Linked DNA regions of Homo sapiens: all the other regions are linked to region 1. Evidence: promoter capture Hi-C in human tissues and cell types (Jung and others, 2019). All regions are on one chromosome and are shown on one strand. Each heading gives the region's core, a stretch centred on a gene start or on the middle of the fragment in contact. The rest is flanking DNA. Distances are from core to core; before and after follow the strand shown.

The links. The method cuts DNA at HindIII sites, captures the fragments that hold promoters and counts their contacts. A contact is called where the count stands out against the background at its distance.
Region 2: a fragment that was not itself captured here is called in contact with the fragment with the promoter of ZSCAN10 in region 1 in 1 of the 25 tissues and cell types used here (dorsolateral prefrontal cortex).
Region 3: the fragment with the promoter of ZSCAN32 here is called in contact with the fragment with the promoter of ZSCAN10 in region 1 in 3 of the 25 tissues and cell types used here (dorsolateral prefrontal cortex, spleen and thymus).

What each region holds. Positions count from the first base shown.
Region 1 is chr16:3,097,770-3,101,240 of GRCh38, reverse strand. ZSCAN10 (zinc finger and SCAN domain containing 10) reads left to right here and starts at 1,947. Exons shown (of 6, transcript NM_032805.3): 1 at 1,947-2,051. RefSeq lists a silencer at 925-984 and an enhancer at 1,145-1,194. The HindIII fragment of the contact is 18,144 bases long and covers 1-3,458 here.
Region 2 is chr16:2,772,231-2,775,701 of GRCh38, reverse strand. ELOB (elongin B) reads left to right here. Exons shown (of 4, transcript NM_007108.4): 3 at 146-251. Among named protein-coding and RNA genes, the nearest start is that of ELOB, 3.3 kb to the left of the region's middle. RefSeq lists a silencer at 2,481-2,633. The HindIII fragment of the contact is 3,004 bases long and covers 679-3,471 here.
Region 3 is chr16:3,399,039-3,402,509 of GRCh38, reverse strand. ZSCAN32 (zinc finger and SCAN domain containing 32) reads left to right here and starts at 1,506. Exons shown (of 7, transcript NM_001284527.2): 1 at 1,506-1,565. It overlaps ZNF174 (zinc finger protein 174), which reads right to left and starts at 1,295. Exons shown (of 3, transcript NM_003450.3): 1 at 104-1,295. The coding sequence starts at 505. It overlaps LOC105371059 (a long non-coding RNA gene), which reads right to left. Exons shown (of 4, transcript XR_007064949.1): 3 at 2,984-3,471; 4 at 2,841-2,879. RefSeq lists silencers at 949-1,168, 1,719-1,868 and an enhancer at 1,246-1,745. The HindIII fragment of the contact is 10,964 bases long and covers 1-3,471 here.

The sequences.
Region 1 (3,471 bases), core at 698-3,197:
TGGCAGACAACCGGATTCGATGGCCCTGGCAGCCCGAACGCCAACAAACACCCAGTGTCTTTCTGAAGCGACCATAAGCCATTCGAGGAAACACGCACGGGGTCCTGCTTGTCCTGGCCTTGTCCCCAATGCCCAGGGCAGTGAGAGCAGCTCTACACGGAGGCCAGTCCCTGAGGCTTCCTCGGTGGCCTCAGACCTCGGAGTACACACGTGCAGTCCTTACCTCCCAAAGATAAACCTAACCTCTCACTCTGCTCTTCACCTACTTCAGACTGCTGTCCCATATATGGTCACCAGAGACATATGAGAACCACTAGAGATAGCCCCAAACTGAAAACTGCCCACGGGCTACCCATAGCAGAATGAATAACTGATGTAATGAGGAAAATCATTCAGCAACGAGAGGGAAAGAACGCTCGATGGCATGGAGTCCCAGCTGTAGTCCCAGCTCCTTGGTAGACCGAGATGGGAGGATCACTTTAACCCAGGAGTTTGAGTCCAGCCTGGGAGATATGGCAAGACCTTGTCTCTAATAAAATAAAATAAGTGGAATTGGGAAAATTACAATTTTAAAAGAAACAAAAATTTTTAGTAGAGATGGGGTTTCACCATGTTGTCCAGGCTAGTCTTGAACTCCTGACCTCAGGTGATTAAAGAGGCTGAGTGCGGTGGCTCATGCCTGTAATCCCAGCACTTTGGGAGGCCAAGGCAGGTGGATCACCTGAGTTCAGGAGTTCAAGACTAGCCTGGCCAAAATGATGAAACCCCATCTCTACAAAAAAAAAAAAAAAAAAAAAAATGAACCGGGCATGATGAGACAGGCCCCACGCCTCTCGCTTCCGAGACTGTAATGGCTGCCTGGTCCCGCCAAGGCCACACCCGCTCCGGCGCTACAGCACCCCGCCCCGCCCCGGACACGCCCCCTCCGTCCCTACAGAACCCCGCCCCGCCCCTTGGCCTTCAGGCCCACTTCCCTGGGGGCGGGGTTTTCTGGCCCCGCCCCTGAACAAACTATGGAGTGGGAGGAGCCCGCGACTGGGAGAGCGAGGCGCGGGACGCGGGGAATGCAGAGCAGACCAAGGAGAAAGACCGTCGTACGAAGGGAGCACTAGACAACTGAAGTAGGAACAGGATGAGCTCAGGTGTTAAGTGCAGGAAAACAAAGACCCGTCAGATGAGCCAGTCAGGAGGGTCCTGGCCCCAACGGACCGAGGGGTCTAGGCCGGGGGAACGGCCAACACCTGAGAGGTGGTCCTGGCTCCCCGGGGGCTCAGAACGCTCAGGAAGGCACCAGCTGCAGCCAAGGGCACAACCCAAGAAGGCACCTTAAGCACAGGGATGGAATTAGTTTGGGGCCAAACGCTGTTGGTTAGGTCACTTCCCTCCCGGGGAGCCCTTGCTTCGTCATCGGTAAAGTTGGGACAAAAGCCACCTGGCAGGACTTGGGAGGACTTTAGGTGACCGTGTAGATGGAGCAAACTCTGCCCCATCACATCCTCCTCTTCCATTTTTTCCTAGCACCGTCGCTGCTCCTTTGCCCTAGAATGTAAGCCCCTGAGAGCAGGGCCTCATTCCTTCAGTTTCTCTCTGTGTCCTTAGCCCCTGCTTTGTAACAGTGCCTGGCACACAGGAGGCCATTGCAAAGAGTAGTCACGTGAATGAAAAGCCTAGCAAAGAAGCCAGCACACTGTGGGCATTTAAAAATGGCAGCTCTTAGCCCAAAGGAAAGACGGGCAGACCTGCAAGGGGCACCAGGCCAGTCTTGATTTGGGAGGTGGTTACACTCTCACACAGGCTGGGATTGAAATCTGGATTTCTCACTTTGTCTTCATGTCACTGGCCCCGCCCTCTTCCCATCCCGCTCCCAAACTGGGAGCTTAAGGGTTAACTCTAGGAAGCCCCTCATCACCTGGATGGGATGGGACTGGGGCAAGGAACTTCCTGTTCCATTTTCCCAGAGCCCTTCCCCAGGCTGGCGGAGGCTGGCTTTGGCCCTGGAGTCCTCAGAAAACCCCCCAGCATCTCTGCCTGTGTAGTGGGGACTCCGAGTGGTGAGTTGGAGGGAGGTCGGGGTGCAGGCTGCCAGGACGGGTGCTAGGAGCTCGCAGCAGCTTGGAGAGAGCAGGGGAGGCTCCAGGCCTTGGTGCTGGGGTGGGGGCTGGAAGAGTCTTGGGAGGATGTAGAGGGTCTGCTGGGGAGCCTCGTGCCAGCCAGCTTGGTGGACCTGTCGCGATGGGGGCGTTGGGGACGAGGGAGATCGCAGAACTTCCTGTGACATTGAAGAAGGCTGGCTTCACGTGCTCCCAGGTGGACTGATGGGCCTTGTCCACTCAGCCCAGCACGCGGAGGGAGGCCCCTCCAACAAACAACAAATCAGGCAGCTGCCAACTGTGTCCAGGGAGAAAGGGAGTGTTCCCGGCTGAGGACCCCACCTTTGCCGCCTTCCCCAACTCTGGGCTCTCAGGTGACCTGGGTGGGTCTCGTGGCAGCACCTCCACCCCGGGCTCCAAATTAAGCTGCTCAAATGTTGGATGGTGGCTGTAGAGCCTCTGCCTGCCTCCCTACCCAGCCCACCCCCAACAGAGGTGCATATTAACAGAGCTTTTGTCCTGGAGATCTGGGGGGAGGGAGAGATTCTCTGAAGCCAACTTGTCTCGAATTCCACCTCTTTGAAACCTTTTGGAGAGATCTCACCTGGAGATTCCGGCCTCCCTGTGTGGCTTGCCCTGAGAGCTGAAATTTGGAATCTTCATTTTTTTTCTGTTTCATGCTGTGATATTTCGGCTAAGGCTAGGAAAATGGCACAGAGCAGGATGGAGATCAGTTCCTTTTCTGTTTCAGAGCTTTGGCACTGTGTTCTAGACCTACACTCTCAGCCTAAAGCAAACCTTGGCTCCACCTGGTGTGACCCTGAGCATGTCACCAAGTGCAAAGCTTGGTCTTTGCACTTGGCAAAGGGAGAAGTGATTGTTTCGTGCGTGGGCTGGACTGGGATGAAATGAGCTTAATCGCCAGACACTCAGTACCTGCCCGCTGCTCCTGCACGGCAATGGATGAGCAGTGATTAGTTTTCTTGTTATTTTGTGCATGCTACTAAAAACCAGTGAAACGTAATCCCATTTTCTTCCCCCTCCCCCACTCTTTTTTTTTCTTTTCTTTTCTTTTCTTTCTTTCTTTCTTTTTTTTTTTTTTTTTTTTGAGACAGGGTCTTCGCCTTTTATCCAGGCTGGTGTGCAGTGGCGCGAACATGGCTCACTGCAGCTTTGACCCCCCAGGTTCAAGCAATCCTTCTGCCTTGGCCACCCAAAATGCTGGGATTATAAGCATGAGCCACCGCATCCGGCCTCACAACACCATTTTTCTGATCATTTATCACAGACTTTTTCTGTCCTAGACGTTGTTACATGCTTTCCTTCGAGATGGCCAGAATCACTGCCATTCCCTAATTTCTGCTAACAGACACTGAAGCAA
Region 2 (3,471 bases), core at 931-3,430, 330 kb after region 1:
GTATTTGTCAAGCAGCGTGGTGGTCCTGGGCCACACTGAGGGAACTCTCTCTTCCCTCCTCTGACTTCCCGTGTAGTTGCTGGTCAGAAGTCTTTGGGACTTGCCCCATGTAGGGCCTCTCCCAAGATCCTGCTTCTCTCCTCAGGATGACCAACTCTTGGATGATGGCAAGACACTGGGCGAGTGTGGCTTCACCAGTCAAACAGCACGGCCACAGGCCCCAGCCACAGTGGGGCTGGCCTTCCGGGCAGGTGAGAGGCCCACCACCCACTGGGCTGGGTGGTAGCCAAGCAGGTTGGGAACACTGTTCCAAAGAAGGTCATCAGGGAGCCTGGAGTTGAAGCCTTCAGGGCAGTGTCTTCCTCGTGCCTAAAGGGCTGGCAATATCCTTTCACAATGTGTTTGTTTCCTCATTTTTTTTTTTTTAAAAAAGAAGCAACCAAATGAGATGCTTACAGAAACCAAAGCTTATTTTGTGAAGCCAGCTCACATTTACAGGAGGCTGAGTGAGTGCCTGGCTCCGTGCTCTGCATGTTACTCTGTGTGTGGCTTCCACTGCCCTGTCTCATCCTCTCAGTAGCCCTGGGAAGTCCACATACCATCATCCGTGTTCTGCAGATGAGGACACAGGCTTACCAGCAGTCACGTAGGGAGCCACGGTTAGGATGCTGACTGCCGGGCCCTTGCTGGAGTCAGACATCATACCAGGCTCTATGCTATGTATCACCGAAACCCTCTGCATCTCTGTGTGGCTGAGATTTGGATTTTGCCAGTTTTCAGGTTCAGTAAAGTGAGCCTGGGGAGGTTAGGTCATCTGCTGGGACTGCCACATCTAGGATTCAGATCCAGAGCCTGGGCTTCCATCAGCCATACCCCACCCCTGCCCAAGCTTTAGAAACCTGGGGATTAGGGAGTGGTTTACTACTCGCCAAGATATCTTCTTCCACCCAAGAGAAAGGGAGGGGAGATTTAAAATATTTTGTCTCTAGGAACTTGAAGAGAGGTTATAGAGCTGTGTTTTCACAGCTGTGGACCCAGCAGCTGTGTGGATGGCTGAGAAAACTTGGATAAAGTTGTAAGGAATTCTTATTTTTCTGCCTGTAAGGGAACATAGCAAAGGCTGAAGAGGAAGAGTAGAGTCCTAGCTCCACCTTTCCGTTCCATAAGTTCAGGCTAGGCCTCAGTCTCAGCAGCTATATCCTCTGGCCAGCTACCTTGCCCTCCTGCCCCTCCTGGCCCCAGTGTTCCCTTCTCCTTAAAGGGGTGTGATGAGACTGGCTTCACAGCAAGGTGGTGTTGAGTCCTCATGCACCCCAGGTCTGGCCTGCTGCCAGTGCCCAACAGATGGGAAGCTTCAGAGCCTTTCTGTGGGCTCTTTCTGCCCAGATGGTGATGTTAAGAGTCAGGTGCAGGGCTGGCATAGACACAGGTCGTGCCTTGTACATGGGTGCATTTTTGTTGTTGTTGTTTCTGAGACAGAGTCGCACTCCGTTGTCTAGGCTGGAGTGCAGTGGCGCCATCTCAGCCCACTGCAGCCGCTGCCTCCCGGGTTCAAGCGATTCTCTTGCCTCAGTGGCCTGAGGAGCTGGGATTACAGGCATGTGCCACCACGCCCAGCTAATCTTTGTGTTTTTAGTAGAGATGGGGTTTCACCATGTTAGTCAGGCTGGTCTCAATCTCCTGACCTCAGGCGATCCATACATCCCAGCCTCCCAAAGTGCTGGGATTACAGGCCTGAGCCTCGGTGCCTGGCCCAGGGGTGCCTGTCTGAAGAGAGCAAGGGAGTGCCAAGAGCATATCTGGTCTGCTTCGTGAACCGAAGCTGGGCTGTGTTCCCCCAGAAGTGTCCCTTTCTCTAATTTCAACAGTGGTACCCCTAGAGGTTTGCTGTGACTTGGAAGATACTGATAGACCCATTTTGCAGATGAGAAAATCAAGGCTAAGGAAGGTGACTTGTTTTTCTCCCACAACCCCTAATATGGCATGGAATGTGGTGGTGACTCCGGAGCCCAGGTCACATCATCCCTCTTGCAGGTGATGGCTGTCTTGATAGGGGGCACAGCATGGGCTGTCAGCTCTTTGCTTCCCCATGGAATGCTTGCAGAAACACACTTCTGGGTGCAGCTCAACCCATCATCATGTTGTTCCCAGGCCTTGAATGGGTGCCCCACCCTCCGCCTCTCCCCTCCCCCAAGCTTACCACTCAAGGAGATGAGTATTTCAAATCAAATGTTAAAGGGCATTGTCCCGGCTCATCACAAAAGAATGAGGGAGGTAGTGAAGGCACGAATTGTCACAGGTTTGTGGCTTGGAAGATGGATTAGTTTCTGAACCTCGGCACAGTGGGCACATTGGGCTGGATTGCTGTGTGGGTTGCCTTGTGCACCATAGCACGTGGAGCCGTATCCCAGGCCTCTACCCACTAGATAGCGCTGGGGCACCCCACCTCCCCATTTGTGACCGCCACAACTGTGATCAGGCATTCCAGCTTTCCCTGGGATGCCTGATCAGTTGAGAACCCTGAGCCAAGCAGAGATGGGTCTCCTAGCTGGAAGAAAGCACAGGAGAAAAGCTGTGGGTTTGTTTGCTGTGTGTTGGGGTGACAGTAGGGACAAGACAGGGAAGGCCTTTGCCTTCCTGGAGCCAGTCAAAAGGGCAGTTTGTCCAGTGGTAAGTGCCCCTACGCCCAGAGTGTCAGGATGTCTTGACTTTTGGGGGTGCGTGGACTGGAGGTTCATCTGAGGAGGTGACCTGAGTTGGACCCTGAAAGTCCAGAAGCAGCCAGCCATTCCGAGTGCTGGGACCAGCAAGTGCGAAGGTCTGAGTTAGGAAAGAACTTACAGAAGAACATAGAGAGCCAGAGCCTCAGAGCGTGGGAAGCAGAGGGAGAGACAGACGGCAAGGACTTGGTGGTATTCAGGTCATGATGGGAAGCCACTGGATGGTTTTCAGCAGGGGAGGAATAGTCTAGATAGTCTAGTTTGATTTTTTTTTTTTGAGATGGAGTCTGTGTCGCCCAGGTTGGAGTGCAGTGGCGCGATCTCAGCTACTGCAAGCTCCGCCTCCCGGGTTCACGTCATTCTCCTGCCTCAGCCTCCCGAGAAGCTGGGACTGTAGGTGCCCGCCACCATGCCCGGCTAATTTTTTTTTTTTTTTTTTTTTTGTATTTTTAGTAGAGATGGGGTTTCACCGTGCTAGCCAGGATGGTCTTGACCTCCTGACCTCATGATCTGCCCGTCTCGGCCTCCCAAAGTGTGTGAAGGGAACAAGGAGATATATTCTGGGTGAAGGGTGATGCTGGCTGCAGATGGTGAGCCCTCAGACTCACTAGTGGACATGGAAGATGAGGAAAGGGGCCCCAGCATGGTCAGTGGGAAGGGCTGGGGACCTTCAGGTTGGGCCCACAGGGGTAGGAGACATTACCGTGGGGCCACGGGGGTAGCTGGAACAGGGAGGTCAGCGCTGTGGAGA
Region 3 (3,471 bases), core at 257-2,756, 300 kb before region 1:
TCGGGCCTGGGCGAAAGAGCAAGATTCCGTCTCAAAAAAAGAAAAAAAAAAAAAAAGAAAAGAAAAAGAAATCCCCAGGATGATGGGAGAGGACCCTCCTTACCCACTGCTTTGGTTTCTTGGATGCTCTGTGAAAATCTTCCACGAGGGTCACAATCTCCTTGCTGCTCATTGGACATCGATGCCTGACCCGAGCCTGGATCTCCGGGGGCAGGATGGTCAGGAACTGCTCCATCACCAGAAGCTCCAAAATCTGCTCCTTGGTGTGCAGCTCGGGTTGCAACCACTGACGGCAGAGCTGTCGGAGCTGGGAGAGAGCCTCTTGGGGTCCAGACACCTCTTGATAACAAAAGCGTCTGAAGCTCTGGCGGCAGAGCTCAGGATCTGGGCAGTTTTTTTGCAGAGGAGGGCCCCGTTTCTCTTCTAGTTTGGCTATTATGTGTCTCTCTTGCTTGGAGGAAGCTTCAGTGTTGGAGCTTAAAGTTATCTCCATTTTAGCTGCCATTTTGGGCGTCAGGAGACAACTCTCTCCTTGTAAACGGGTTAAGCCTTTGGGATCATGACCCTGGAGAAGTCTCTGAATACTAGAAAGATTCTAGAAACGAAGGTTCTCTGAGGATGTTAGGGGGAACGGGATGCAGAGACAAAGCCTCACTTGCTAGCCTTTACTAGCCAAACTCAAGACAACGCGGTCCCTGGGAGTGGGAAGAGTTTTGTCTTCTTGTCAGTTTTTTGCAGTCTTGCAAAGGAGAAAAGTCATAACGTCCTAAAAGGACTCTGGGGAAAAAATACTTCTTTTATTTCAGTAGCAAGCACACAGGTCTCGGATTTAATGAGCAATACGCTCTAACCGGCGGGTGGAGCGGAATCCCTAGGAAAAGTTCAAGCTGTCGCAGGTAGCTTGCCCCAACTCTCCCGCATCCTGGCGGAAACCGACCGGGTGCATGTCGCCGGGTGCTAAACGGTAGAGCTAAGCGAGGCCACAGCGCCAGCCGGGGGTGTGAGGTAGCGAACAGCCTCCTGCACGCGAGCAAAGCGGCTGCTCGCTGCCGAGGCGCCGCAGGCCCAGTGGCTCCGGCCTCCAGGGCGGCCCCGCGGCCCAGCCAGCCCCAGGCCTGGCGAAGCTGCCGCAACCCGATGCGCAGCTGAACTCCACGCCCGGTGTGAGCTCGGACTGGCGACTGCGACACCGGTACCCCGAACAGCCCGGCGCCCCGCACCCACCTGCAGCCGACTCACCTCTCCGGGAACCCAAGACCGAGGGACTTAGGACCCGACACCGGCGAGCACGGGCTGGGGGCGGGGCCGATGCCACTCGCTGCGGAGACGCCCACTAGCTGCTGAGGACAACTACTGACAGGGCCCGCCTCCTGCCAAGGGCATTCTCTACCGTCTATTGGTTGCTGCGCCTGTCAATACCGTCGCAGTGCATCCCGGGAGCTGCAGTCCGGCAATTCGGCTTGCGGGCCTGCGCAGGGGCGTGCGTAATGGGCGGAGCGAATCGCGCCGCTGACTTCCGGCCCGGAGGCTGAGGGAGTTTGTGGAGTCGCGAGTGCTGGTGTCCGGTGAGTTCTCCGCTTCCTTGCGGCCGGCGGGATTAGCCGCTGGGCCCTGCGACGGCCGAGGAGCCCCTCCCCGCTGGGAGTCTTCTCCGAGGCGTTCGGGTCCGGCCCCGATGGGCGTCTCCTTGGGACAGGCAGCCTCCCTCAGGCCGGGCGTCCCCAGACGCGCCGCGATCACCGTGCCCCGCTCCCACCGTGCGGATCACCCCGAGCCTGAGCGCCGGCGCCCCGGGACCCCCTGGCCTTGACCCTGCTCATCTCGTCCCTGTCTCGCCCACTCCCTACTCATCCACAGTGCCTAGCCCTGGCACCGAGTGCGTTCTGAGTACTCAATAAATAGTTAACTAAGTGAAAAACCTATCAACCTGGCTCCCCATCCTCATGCTACATTTTTTTCCGAGTGTTTGGGCCATCGCTAGAGTGAAGTAAAATTTTCAGAGAACAGCATTTTAAAATTTAACGATGAGTGGGAGGTAAGGGGTCAAAAGGGGTCAAGAAGGGTGCAGGTTCCGCCTTCTGCATGAAGTTAGAAGAGCTTTTATTAAATTCTTCTTCAGCCAGGTAAGGCACAGGATGAACATAATGAAGGCAAGGGGTGCTGGTTCTAGTCCTGGCCTTGCTGCCTAGGAGCTGTGCTGTGTGATGCTTTAGGCAAGATACTTCATCGCTCTCAGTTTCTTTTTGGCTAGAAAGCAGTGCTAACAATAATAATGCCCTTGATTTCTCTATCTCTAGAAGCACTGAAATGTAAAGAGAATTTAAGTGAAGGCAGTTCAAGTTCCTTGAGAAAAGGGAACCCAAATCCATTTTTAAAATATAAAAAAATTTCTTTAATTTTTAAAAAACATTTACCATCATAACCATTTTTAAGTGTACAGCTCAGTAGTCCTGAGTATATTCATCTTGTTGTGCATGCTGGATCCATTTTAATACCACATGGTGAGGGTGTATCAGCCCCTGGAGAAAATGTAAATTACGATCTGCTTTAATCTGTGTTTTAAGTAGATAAAAACCAACACAAACTCATTAAAAAAGACTGCCTTCGCGGGTGCAGTGGCTCACACCTGTAATCCCAGCACTTTGGGAGGCCAAGGTGGGAGGATCACTTGAGCACAGGAGTTTGAGACCAGCCTGGGCAACATAGTGAAACTCCACCTCTACAAAAAATACAAAAGTTAGCTTCTATTTAAAATTATTTTTAAGGTCGGGCATGGTGGCTTATACTTGTAATCCTAACACTTTGGGAGGTTGAGGTGGGAGGATTGCTTGAGTTCAGGAGTTTGAGACCAGCCTGGGCAACAGAGTGAGACTCCATCTCTAAAGATAAAAAAACAAATAAAATTATTTTTAAAAGTTATTTATTAATTTTAAATTATATAAAACTATTTTTAAAATTAACTCTTAAAAAAATATTGCCTTACATAAACTGGCCTTGGAGATCCAAACATGTTGTCAAGACTTGAGTATATTGTCCTCTTGTAAACAGGCTCACTCCTGTGATGGAAGAGTGGAGTAGAGAGTGGGACATAGTTGGAGACAACTCTGATCTTACATTTGCCCAATTTACCAATTCCTAGAAAATGAAGAGCTTTCCCTACCTCTCATGTAAAATCTGAGAAAAGAATTTTGATAGGCCTAGCTGTGTGTCATATGCCCACTTCTGGGGAAGTGGGTATTGTAATTAATATCCCCACCAGAACCAATGAGAGGGACTTTTTCTTTTTTTGAGACAGTCTCGCTCTTGTTGCCCAGGCTGGAGTGCAATGGCGTGATCACAGCTCACTGCAACCTCCGCCTCCCGGGTTCAAGCGATTCTCCTGCCTCAGCCTCCCGAGTAGCTGCGACTACAGGTGCGTGCCACCATGCCCAGCTAATTTTTTTGTATTTTTAGTAGAGACGGAGTTTCATC